Regions from separate parts of the Homo sapiens genome. Here region 2 is linked to region 1. Evidence: promoter capture Hi-C in 16 types of primary human blood cells and fetal thymus (Javierre and others, 2016). All regions are on one chromosome and are shown on one strand. The core of a region is centred on a gene start or on the middle of the fragment in contact, and the rest is flanking DNA. Distances in the headings are between cores, read along the strand shown.

What was found. The method cuts DNA at HindIII sites, captures the fragments that hold promoters and counts their contacts. A CHiCAGO score of 5 or more calls a contact.
Region 2: a contact is called between a fragment that was not itself captured here and the fragment with the promoter of TBCCD1 in region 1, in 1 of 17 cell types (megakaryocytes). The highest score is 5.1, in megakaryocytes.

What each region holds. Positions count from the first base shown.
Region 1 is chr3:186,564,364-186,568,907 of GRCh38, reverse strand. TBCCD1 (TBCC domain containing 1) reads left to right here and starts at 1,569. Exons shown (of 8, transcript NM_018138.5): 1 at 1,569-1,641; 2 at 4,536-4,544. RefSeq lists a silencer at 1,376-1,665. The HindIII fragment of the contact is 1,727 bases long and covers 1,357-3,083 here.
Region 2 is chr3:186,338,190-186,343,245 of GRCh38, reverse strand. All of the region lies in intron 1 of DGKG (diacylglycerol kinase gamma), which reads left to right. Among named protein-coding and RNA genes, the nearest start is that of DGKG, 22 kb to the left of the region's middle. The HindIII fragment of the contact is 1,506 bases long and covers 734-2,239 here.

The DNA of each region.
Region 1 (4,544 bases), core at 320-2,819:
TTCCTGAGACAGAGTCTCGCTCTGTCGCCCAGGCTGGAGAGCAGTAGCGTGATCTTGGCTCACTGCAACCTCCGCCTCCTGGGTTCAAGCGATTCTCCTGCCTCAGCCTCCCGAGTAGCTGGGACTACAGGCGCACACCACCATGTCCGTCTAATTTTTTTGTATTTTTAGTAGAGACTGGGTTTAACCATGTTGGCCAGGCTGGTCTCGAACTCCTGACCTCAAGTGATCCACCCGCCTCAGCCTCCCAAACTGCTGGGATTATAGGCATGAGCCACCACGCCCGGCCTCCTATTTTTTTCATCCCTGGTCCCTAGACTTACACACTGAAATGCCAGTTTCATGAGAGCATGAATCTATATTGTTCTGTTCACAGCTGTATAAAAGAGCACCTTAGAACAGTGCCTGGCATGGAGTAGGTGCTGAAGTACTTTTGAGTCAAAGTTACTGGGATGGTGATCATTGTATGGCTGGCTTCTTACTCTTCAGGCCTCAGCTCAAATTTGGCACCACAAAGTGGCCTTCCCTGACCCCCCGCCCCAATTTTCATAGCATTTTTCACTATTTGAAATTATCTTATTTTATTCCTTAATATGTATTGTCTATTCTCCCTGTTATACACTCCAAGAAAGCAAGGACCTTGTCTGTTTTGTTCACTTCTGTCATTCTAGTGCGTACCACTGTGCCAGACACACAGTGGTACTCAACAAGTAACAGCAGGGTCACTGAGCTAATAAGTGGTGCAGCCTGGATCCTAACCCAGGTATGTGTAAATTTGAAGCCCCTGCTTTCAGGAAGATACCCAGTAGGGACAATGGCCACACAAAAGAGGAACTAAATTGCATTTTACGGTCTAATTTACCTTTGTATCTATCACACCTAGAGAGGCCATAAAGGAACTAAAAAAAGCAGGAAATGTCCAGAAATTCTGAAATGGAAGTTTAAAGGAAGGAGTGATGGCTTCTGCCCGGTAATCTGAAAAAGCTTCATGAAGGTGGAAACACGGCAGGAAAGCTAACAGAGTTAAGGAGCTGACACCGAGGGGCGGCAGGGAGTGCCAGTCTTGCTTCAGACGCCCTGGGCTTGAATCTTGGCTCCATCTCTTGTGTGACCTTAGGGTTGTGTTATTTTCACCTTTCTAGGCCCTAGTTTCTTCATCAGTAAAACGAATGTACTTAAAGGGCTCTTGACAAGACTTAGGAAATACACATAAAGTTGCTTTACACAGTGCTGAGACCATAGTAAGTGCTCTATAAATGCAAACTGCCATTAGTATTAGTAGCATTTCTGATGAAAGCGTGCTGATCTTACCAGCAGCTATTAGCTGACCACAGTTATGCGGAGCAACAGAAAGCTTCCTACCCCCCCGGGTTGAAAGGCGCGACACCAGAAAGCGGTGGGTCTGGCTCCAGGTGCCACTGTTGCGGACTCTCGACCCCAGCCTAGATTTTCTCAGACGCTTGAGCCGCAATCTGCCGCTCTAGCAACGGGGTCCGCCAGGTCTCGGTGGTGCGGGGCCTCGCGCTTGCGCAGTGGGCACGGCAGCGGCGCGCGGAGGAGGGTGAGGGGCGGGCCCAGCGAGCGGACGCCGGGCGCGGCGGCGCGCGGAGAAGTGCGGCGGAGCGGCGCCTGCATTAGCAGGTAACCGCGCACTGGGTGCGCCGGGGAGGGCGGTGTGGGTTAGTCAGGCTTCAGGCTTGGGTCGAGGAGGCTGCCTTCGCGCTTACCGCGTCTCGGGTCAGCTACCGACCCTGTCAGCGTGAGCGTCTGTGTTCCTGAAGTCCGGTCGCGACGCTGGGGCGGCCCACGCAGAGTCCCACCCCGGATCGCGTCCAAGGTGGCGGCGAAGCCCCAGGACAGCCGCCTTGGACCCACGCCGATCTCCCGACCTGAAAAACCTTAACCTCAGGGCACCGCCAGGGTCAGAGCCCCAGTTTATGTTTGTTTACGGATTGAGCCCTCTCGATTCTCGGAGTTAGAATGGAGGGCTCATCTCTGGGATCTGGCTGTTGACAGGGGCTCAGTACCTCACAGAGCAGCCTCTTTACATTTTGGAGAGAACCGAGGTCTTCCTCGCCTAACTTTTATCGTCTGGTTTTACTCAAAACGACTCCAGTCTCTCCACATTGGAAGACAGCTGCCTTTTGCCCTTCCACGCCCTTCTTTTGAGTTTACTCTCCCTGGTTCTTTCACCTGGCTTCCTGTCTAAGACTCTTTATTCTGGAAATTCTCTTCTGGATCCACTCCCGTTTTTAAGAGATTCTCCCAAAACTGGATTCCTAGAGTACATTTATAGTAATGCAGTTCTCAAGTCAGACCTGAATCCTAATCTAGAGCTGTGCCAGCTAAGTAGGTGTCCTTAGGGAAATCCCTTAACTTCGCTAAGCCTCATTTTTTTTTCATCGAAAATGTGTACAGTCTTAAGTACTGTATCTCCAGGTGGTTGTGAGGATGAAAGGAGGTGAAGTATGCAAAATCATGAGCATGATACCTGGTACATAGTAAGCACTCGATTGATGTCAGTTATTTTTCCGAACAGATGATTCTCGAGAGAGGCACAGTTGGCAGGCCGGGTGCGGTGGGTCACGCCTGTAATCCCAGCACTTTGGAAGGCCAAGGCAGGCGGATCACCTGAGGTCAGGGAGTTCAAGACCAGCCTGGCCAACATGGTGAAACCCTGTCTGTACTAAAAAAATACAAAAATTAGCCTGGCGTGGTGGCGGGAGCCTGTAATCCCAGCTACTTGAGAGGCTGAGGCAGGAGAATCGTTTGAACCTGGGAGGTGGAGGTTGCAATGAGCCGAGATCGAGCTATTGCACTCCAGCCTGGGCAACAGAGCGAGACTCCGTCTCAAAAAAAAAAAAAAGAGAGAAGCACAGTTTTCTTAGAATCAAATGCAAAATATAATAATAGCAATAAAATTTTCATCAGTCATATAATTGATTTTTTAAATTAGTTTTTATATTTTTAAAAAAATGATGTTGCTAATGTTGAGGAGTGCACAGTGAAGTAGGTACCAGAGTCAAAGGATGGTACAATTTGATAAAATCATTTGGAAGCAACAAGGATATATTTCACAAGCTTTAGAAATGTCAATTACTTAATTTCACAAAAGTACATCTGAAAATTTTCACACAGAAATAATTCGTAATGCAGAAAATATGAAGAAAGATGGTAGTGATAGCATTATTTACACTTGTGACAACATTTGAACTTTTGTAATGAAATTTTTTAACATACACAAAAATAGAATCAGTGAGCCCCCCACGTACCCATTACCCCACTTCAATAATGATCAGTATTTTGCCTATGTTGTTTTTGTGAAAAATCTGAAACCTAGTAAGGTGTCTAAAAATGGGAGAAGAGTTGAATAAAATGGGATACATTTATTTAGAATACTATAAAGCTTTTGAAACAGTACAGAATTGTGTATGTAACATCACAACTGTGAAAATTCAAAAACTAACATCTAATTTATGTGTAGAAAAAAGACAAAGAGGCCAGGCATAGTGGCTCAAGCCTGTAATCCTAGCACTTTGGGAAGCTGAGGCGAGGGATCACTTGAGGTCAGGAATTTGAGATCAGCCTGGCCAACATAGTTAAACCCCATCTCTACTAAAAATACAAAAATTAGCCAGGTGTGGTGGTGGACGCCTGTAGTCCCAGCTACTGGGGAGGCTGAGGCATGAGAATCGCTTGAACCTGGGAGGTGGAGGTTGCAGTGAGCTGAGATCATGCCACTGCACTCTAGCCTGGGCAACAGAGGGAAACTCCATCTCAAAAAAAAAAAAAAAAAAAGAAGAAGAAGAAGGAAATACAATAAAATATTAATTTGTTGCCCTTTACTTGTGGGATTGTGGATGGTTCCCTGTTTTTGTATTTTATAAATATTCCATAAAAATCATGTATCATTGTTACAACAAAAAAAAATCTAAAAAATCACACCTGAACTGAGCAGGATCAAATATGCTAGAGTGGGTTCACTGTTATAGAGAATAAAGATGCTGTAACTTCTCCTGATCTATTCTTGCAGTCTACATTTACATTAGCATTCTTGCCTGCTGCCTCACATTAGCACTTCATATTGAATTTATATGCTCAGCTAACATGTCCAGATCTTTAACCAACTGTCTTCTGTGTAAGTGATTTAACTCTGTGAAATGTATTTCCCTTATTTTGAACAGTGTTCCCCCTCAGAGTAGAAAAAGGTTTCCTGTGATAGGATGACTTTTTTCCCCTCATTCATTTTCTTCCTGGGATCTCACTCAGACTTCATGCATCTACACACACTTCCTAAAACAAGGATTTCTAACAATTCAAGTAAGATAATTTTGTTTTATCACAATTTTTTTCTCAGATTATAATGAGATCTGATTAAAAAAACTGTTCTGCTCTTGGTTGGTGAACTAGAGCTGCCTTTTAAGATGATGATGTAGTACATATGACACAGTTGAGAGAGAGGGGTCACCTTCCAAGAAAAAATGCATAAATGAGACTTGTTTCAAATCAGTTTATGAAGAAACTTTGTTTCCTAGGTATGCAAA
Region 2 (5,056 bases), core at 237-2,736, 230 kb after region 1:
TTGTTGTTTTTCTCCAAAATTCTTCAAAGATCAACGAAAGTGGTTCAGTAGCCTCCATGGAGGTTCTGGTAATCCTCGTTCACAAGCGATAGACTAAGCTGTTCTTTGCTCTTATGGGTCTAAAATGAACTGGCCCAGTTCCCAGAATTCCTCCAACTTTTTTTGGCCCATAGTGGGGTTTTTTGTTGTTATTGTCATTTAGTATTTCAGATCACTTTCAGCTATTTTTTTCACATTATAATTTTTCCGTTTAAGTTTGTGCCATCTTCCTATATGTTCCTTGGTTGTGTGCCTTTCTTTTCCTTTTTTTCTAAGTGTCTTTTTCAGATGGGAATCTGTGGGTGAGCCTGCAGGCACATTTTTTAAAAGGACCATTTCTTTTCCCTTTTTATTGGAATGATTTTTGAACGCTTCCCCATTTTGGAAAACTTCAGGCTGCCTCTATTCCAGAATCTCATCTAATCATAACTATCTTCTTTTTAACTTTTTAGACTGCCTAAATCTAGACTTCTTGGCTACTTATTACAGCCAGCCTTCTCCTCATTGACAATCATGTCTTCTGAGCTGGAGTGGCTTGTTTCTCCTAATATGTCTCTTCTGCTTGCTTCACCAAGCAGGGTCTTTCTGTTGGTCAGAATGAGGGACCGAGAGAAAAAAAACAGAAATAAAACAAAACAAAAAATCAAATAAAAAAATAAAGAATGAGAGACAGAGGAGTGTATCTAGTTAAGCTTCTTTATTCCATGTCAACAAGGGAAATGAAGAGACTTGTCTGATGCGCTATTTTTAGCTGAAAAGGGCGTTTTGCAAGTGTTCAGTCAGCACAAGACCACTTTCACTGCTGTAACTTCCCTTATGACAGAATAACAGTGGCTAAGAATCCACCCTCCATTTCTTCCTGTGGCCAAGCGGCCTGTAGAAAATGCTCATAATGAACTCACATGTGTTCTTTACCATATTCTGCTCACTCATGATATCTCTAGGTGCTCTATCCTTAGGGTCGTGAATTTCCGTAACAAATCAATCTCTTGCTGTCTAGACTATTCAGCCCATTAATGTAGTTTCTAGTATTTTTTTTTATTATACTTTAAGTTTTAGGGTACATGTGCACATTGTGCAGGTTAGTTACATACGTATACATGTGCCATGCTGGTGCACTGCACCCACTAACTCGTCATCTAGCATTAGGTATATCTCCCAGTGCTATCCCTCCTCACTCCTCCCACCCCACAACAGTCCCCAGAGTGTGATATTACCCTTCCTGTGTCCATGTGTCCTCATTGTTCAATTCCCACCTATGAGTGAGAATATGGGGTGTTTGGTTTTTTGTTCTTGCGATAGTTTACTGAGAATGATGTTTTCCAATTTCATCCATGTCCCTACAAAGGACATGAACTCATCATTTTTTATGGCTGCATAGTATTCCATGGTGTATATGTGCCACATTTTCTTAATCCAGTCTATCATTGTTGGACATTTGGGTTGGTTCCAAGTCTTTGCTATTGTGAATAATGCTGCAGTAAACATACGTGTGCATGTGTCTTTATATCAAACAAATTTACAAGAAAAAAACAAACAACCCCATCAAAAAGTGGGCGAAGGACATGAACAGACACTTCTCTAGTATTCTTTATAATTATGTATACATATGTGTACGTGTCACCAGGTACCTTCCCTCTCTTGTCTTTGTTTTACCAGCAGTTCCTGGATAGATTCATGGTATCATGGTATCATCCCAACTCTTTTATATTTTATTTTATTTCTGAGTTGGTGGTTTCACTATATTGCCCAGGTTGGTCTTGAACTTCTTGGCTCAAGCCATCTTCCTTCCTCAGCCTCCCAAGTAGCTAGGACTACAGTTGTGTACCACTGCATCTGGCTCTATCCCAGCTCTTTGATCCTCTTACTCATCACCCTGTACTAAATACATGTCCCCCATGCTTAGTAGATGCAAGTCCTTCATGACCAGACATGAACTTACCCTTCCAGCATATGATAAATCATGGTCCAGAAATCTACAGCCACTTAGTGATATCTGCTTCTTTGTTATCCCAGAATCCCAATGATCAGCAGAAAGAACAATGACAACATTATCCCTATTCCCAAGTCCTTCACAGTCTCGCCCCTCAAACTAGTGGGAGATCCAGTTAGCCTAGGAGATAAAGTACCTTGAATACTTGGAAAAGGCACTGAACACAAACTGATAGTTTAGTTCTTGACCTGGAAAATAATTGAAGCTTGTGGTTTTCGGTAGTCTCATGTGCAGAACAGACTAAAATGAGTGAGAAGATAGTTATGAGACCAGAGACCTGCTAGGGCCATTAAGAAGCCCCTACCCAGAAACTGGAGGTGCTGTTACAAGGAATTTAATGGAGAGAAAGGGGCAGAGCTGAAAGATAAAAGACAAAACTTGGCGAATTGATGTCTGATTTGGTATTGAGATTTCAGAGAGGGGAAGGAGACTAAAGGTAAATAAAGCCAATGTATCAAGCCCAGGAAATGTGGAGAATGACTTCTTCATTGAAAAAGTTAGTTGTTTAGTTTTGGAGATAGACGTGGGAGGAAGGTAAGTTTGAGAGTAGAGTATTTATATATTTAAAAGTTACATCTAGCAAGTGGTTAGAGGAATGAATATGTGCATGTGATTCCATCAGCAACAGGGTGGCTTTCTGACCAAACTAAACTCAGCATGTGATTTCACACTCTGATCAAAACAATGTCAGTCAATCAAATAAAATGATTTATTTTTCTTTAGTTGGGGCTGGTTTCTGTTGGCTATTTTTGCCTAGTTCAAAGTGACTCACCCAGGGAGCCAGTCCCTCCAATTGGGTTGTAATTTATTAAACACATTCAGCCAAATGACTAACTCTGTGCTCTTCTCCCAACCCCTCCAGTGTTATTAGTCTGGCCCACACATCCAGCCACTCCTAACCCCTGCAAGCAGATGTTTCCATAAAGTTTATAGTTTTTTAAATTTACTTATTCATTAACAGCTTCTAGAGATGAAGGTGAAAATTTACAATGTTTTGTCTTCTACAGCTGGTACTGAAAAGCATCTTCTTTCCCTCCCATCCTCTTCCTCGAAGATTTTTCATCTCTAAATTCATACTTTCTCTCATTTTAAACCACTTCTCCATTTTATGAGGACACTCAAGGGGTCAGGGAATCTTGGCACATTTACCTGTGTCTGATAAAGAGGAAGGGAAGGGAATTAACATCTGTGGAGACCTGTGCCAGGCACGGCCCTGGGAAACCTATATTCATTATCTTTAATCCTACTGTGTAAGGTGATACCACTATTCCCATTTTCCAGATGAGGAAACTTGGGCTCAAGAGATTAGGTAGAATAAATAGTATGCTCAAGACCACAAATATAGGAAATGTCATGGAGGACATGCTGACTCAGGTTTGTTGGAGCTTGGGGTGATACTCTTTTCTGTTTCCTGGCAGATATAGATTTCCGGGTACTGCTGACACTTTGTGCTCCACATCAGAAGCCAGTGGTACAAAGGAGCAGCAGAGAAACCTTCAATATCTCACAGGCCCCAGCGTACAGGCCTCTTGGCATACCACCCACCCCCACAACCCACACACATGCTTCAGTAAGCTGGGCTCATTATTTTGGAAGATTTGGGGGAAATGAAATAGCACATTCCTAATTAGTTTGAACTGAGGAACCCATTAGCTGTATTTTTTATTGAAATTGAAAATACAAAAACATAATCTCATAGCATGAAAAAACCTCTTTTAAAGTTACATCCAATTTAGGAGTCTTGAGGTTTTGATTTTAGTAGTTCCTCTCTCCGGTGGAGGCATGTAAGACACAGTTAGTAAACAGGAGTCTTTTCTGCTCTTTCTTCTCAGTCAACCATGTCAACATCATCGCTGTCTGAGCTCTTCTTTCTCTGAGCTCCACAGCCCTTAGCACACACAGCTCAGTACTATAGCTTTTATGGAAGCTCTGTGATATCCCCAATGGGCTTTAAGTTCACTGATGGCTAAGGTAATCCTAATTCATCTTTGCCTCCCCCATAGCTCCTAGCAGAGTATTTTAAACATACTAAAAGCTTGATAAATGCACAAGCATAATTGCCCATTGAACATCATTATTTTAACCAACTTTATAGGAAAGGATAAACTAACTAGAAGATAGAACAGGATTTCAAGGTAGAATAAGTCCTCTATAATTTCTGGTGTAGGGGAACTTTAGGTGAAGGTGATTCATTTATTTAACAATGGTATACATTCATGCATCGTTCACAGATACTAAAATTCTCATGTATATAAATAATACTCATAAAGAATGAAAAGACATAATACATATTGTTTATCCTATAAGCCCACATACATTACACATGTTCATACATAGTATACATTGATATGTTCCATGCAGTAACTGCTTGGGTATCTGCCTTCAAGTCAATGTTCCGTAAGCCTCCATCTCTAACCAATGTACGTAAACTTTGAAAAGATTGAGTTGTGCCAGAAAAAAATAGAAAGAAGCAGACCTAGATAGTAGAAATAAGGACTTTCCTTCAAATTTTTAAAAAGTATAAATAATACATTAATACATTCCCTTTTTAAAAAAGAATTAAAAAGTTACAGATAACAAAACCTCAACTTCTAAACTTTATGTATTTCTTGGAAGTAACCATGATTACATTTCATGTACATCCTTTCACATCTCTCTTTTTTCAGTTACATAAGAATATTTGTACCACTACAAATATTGCATGTAATTTTGAGAGGTTTTTAAAATGACGTTTACTAGTTCTAATAGTCACAAAAAACTCCACAAGGGAGATTCCATTATCACTCACATGAATAAACTAGGGCTTAGATAGACAAAGATTTCAAAAATTTTACCAGTCACGTAGCTAGTAAGTACCAGAACTAAAGTAAGCCTTCCTATCCGTGAATAAAATATGTATCCATTTATTTAGATTTCCCTATTGTCCTGCTACAAATGCCTATAGGTTTCTCCATTTTTCTCCATGAAGGTCTTGCACATTAATTGTTAGATTCACTCCAATGTACATTCTACTTTTCCTTCTTT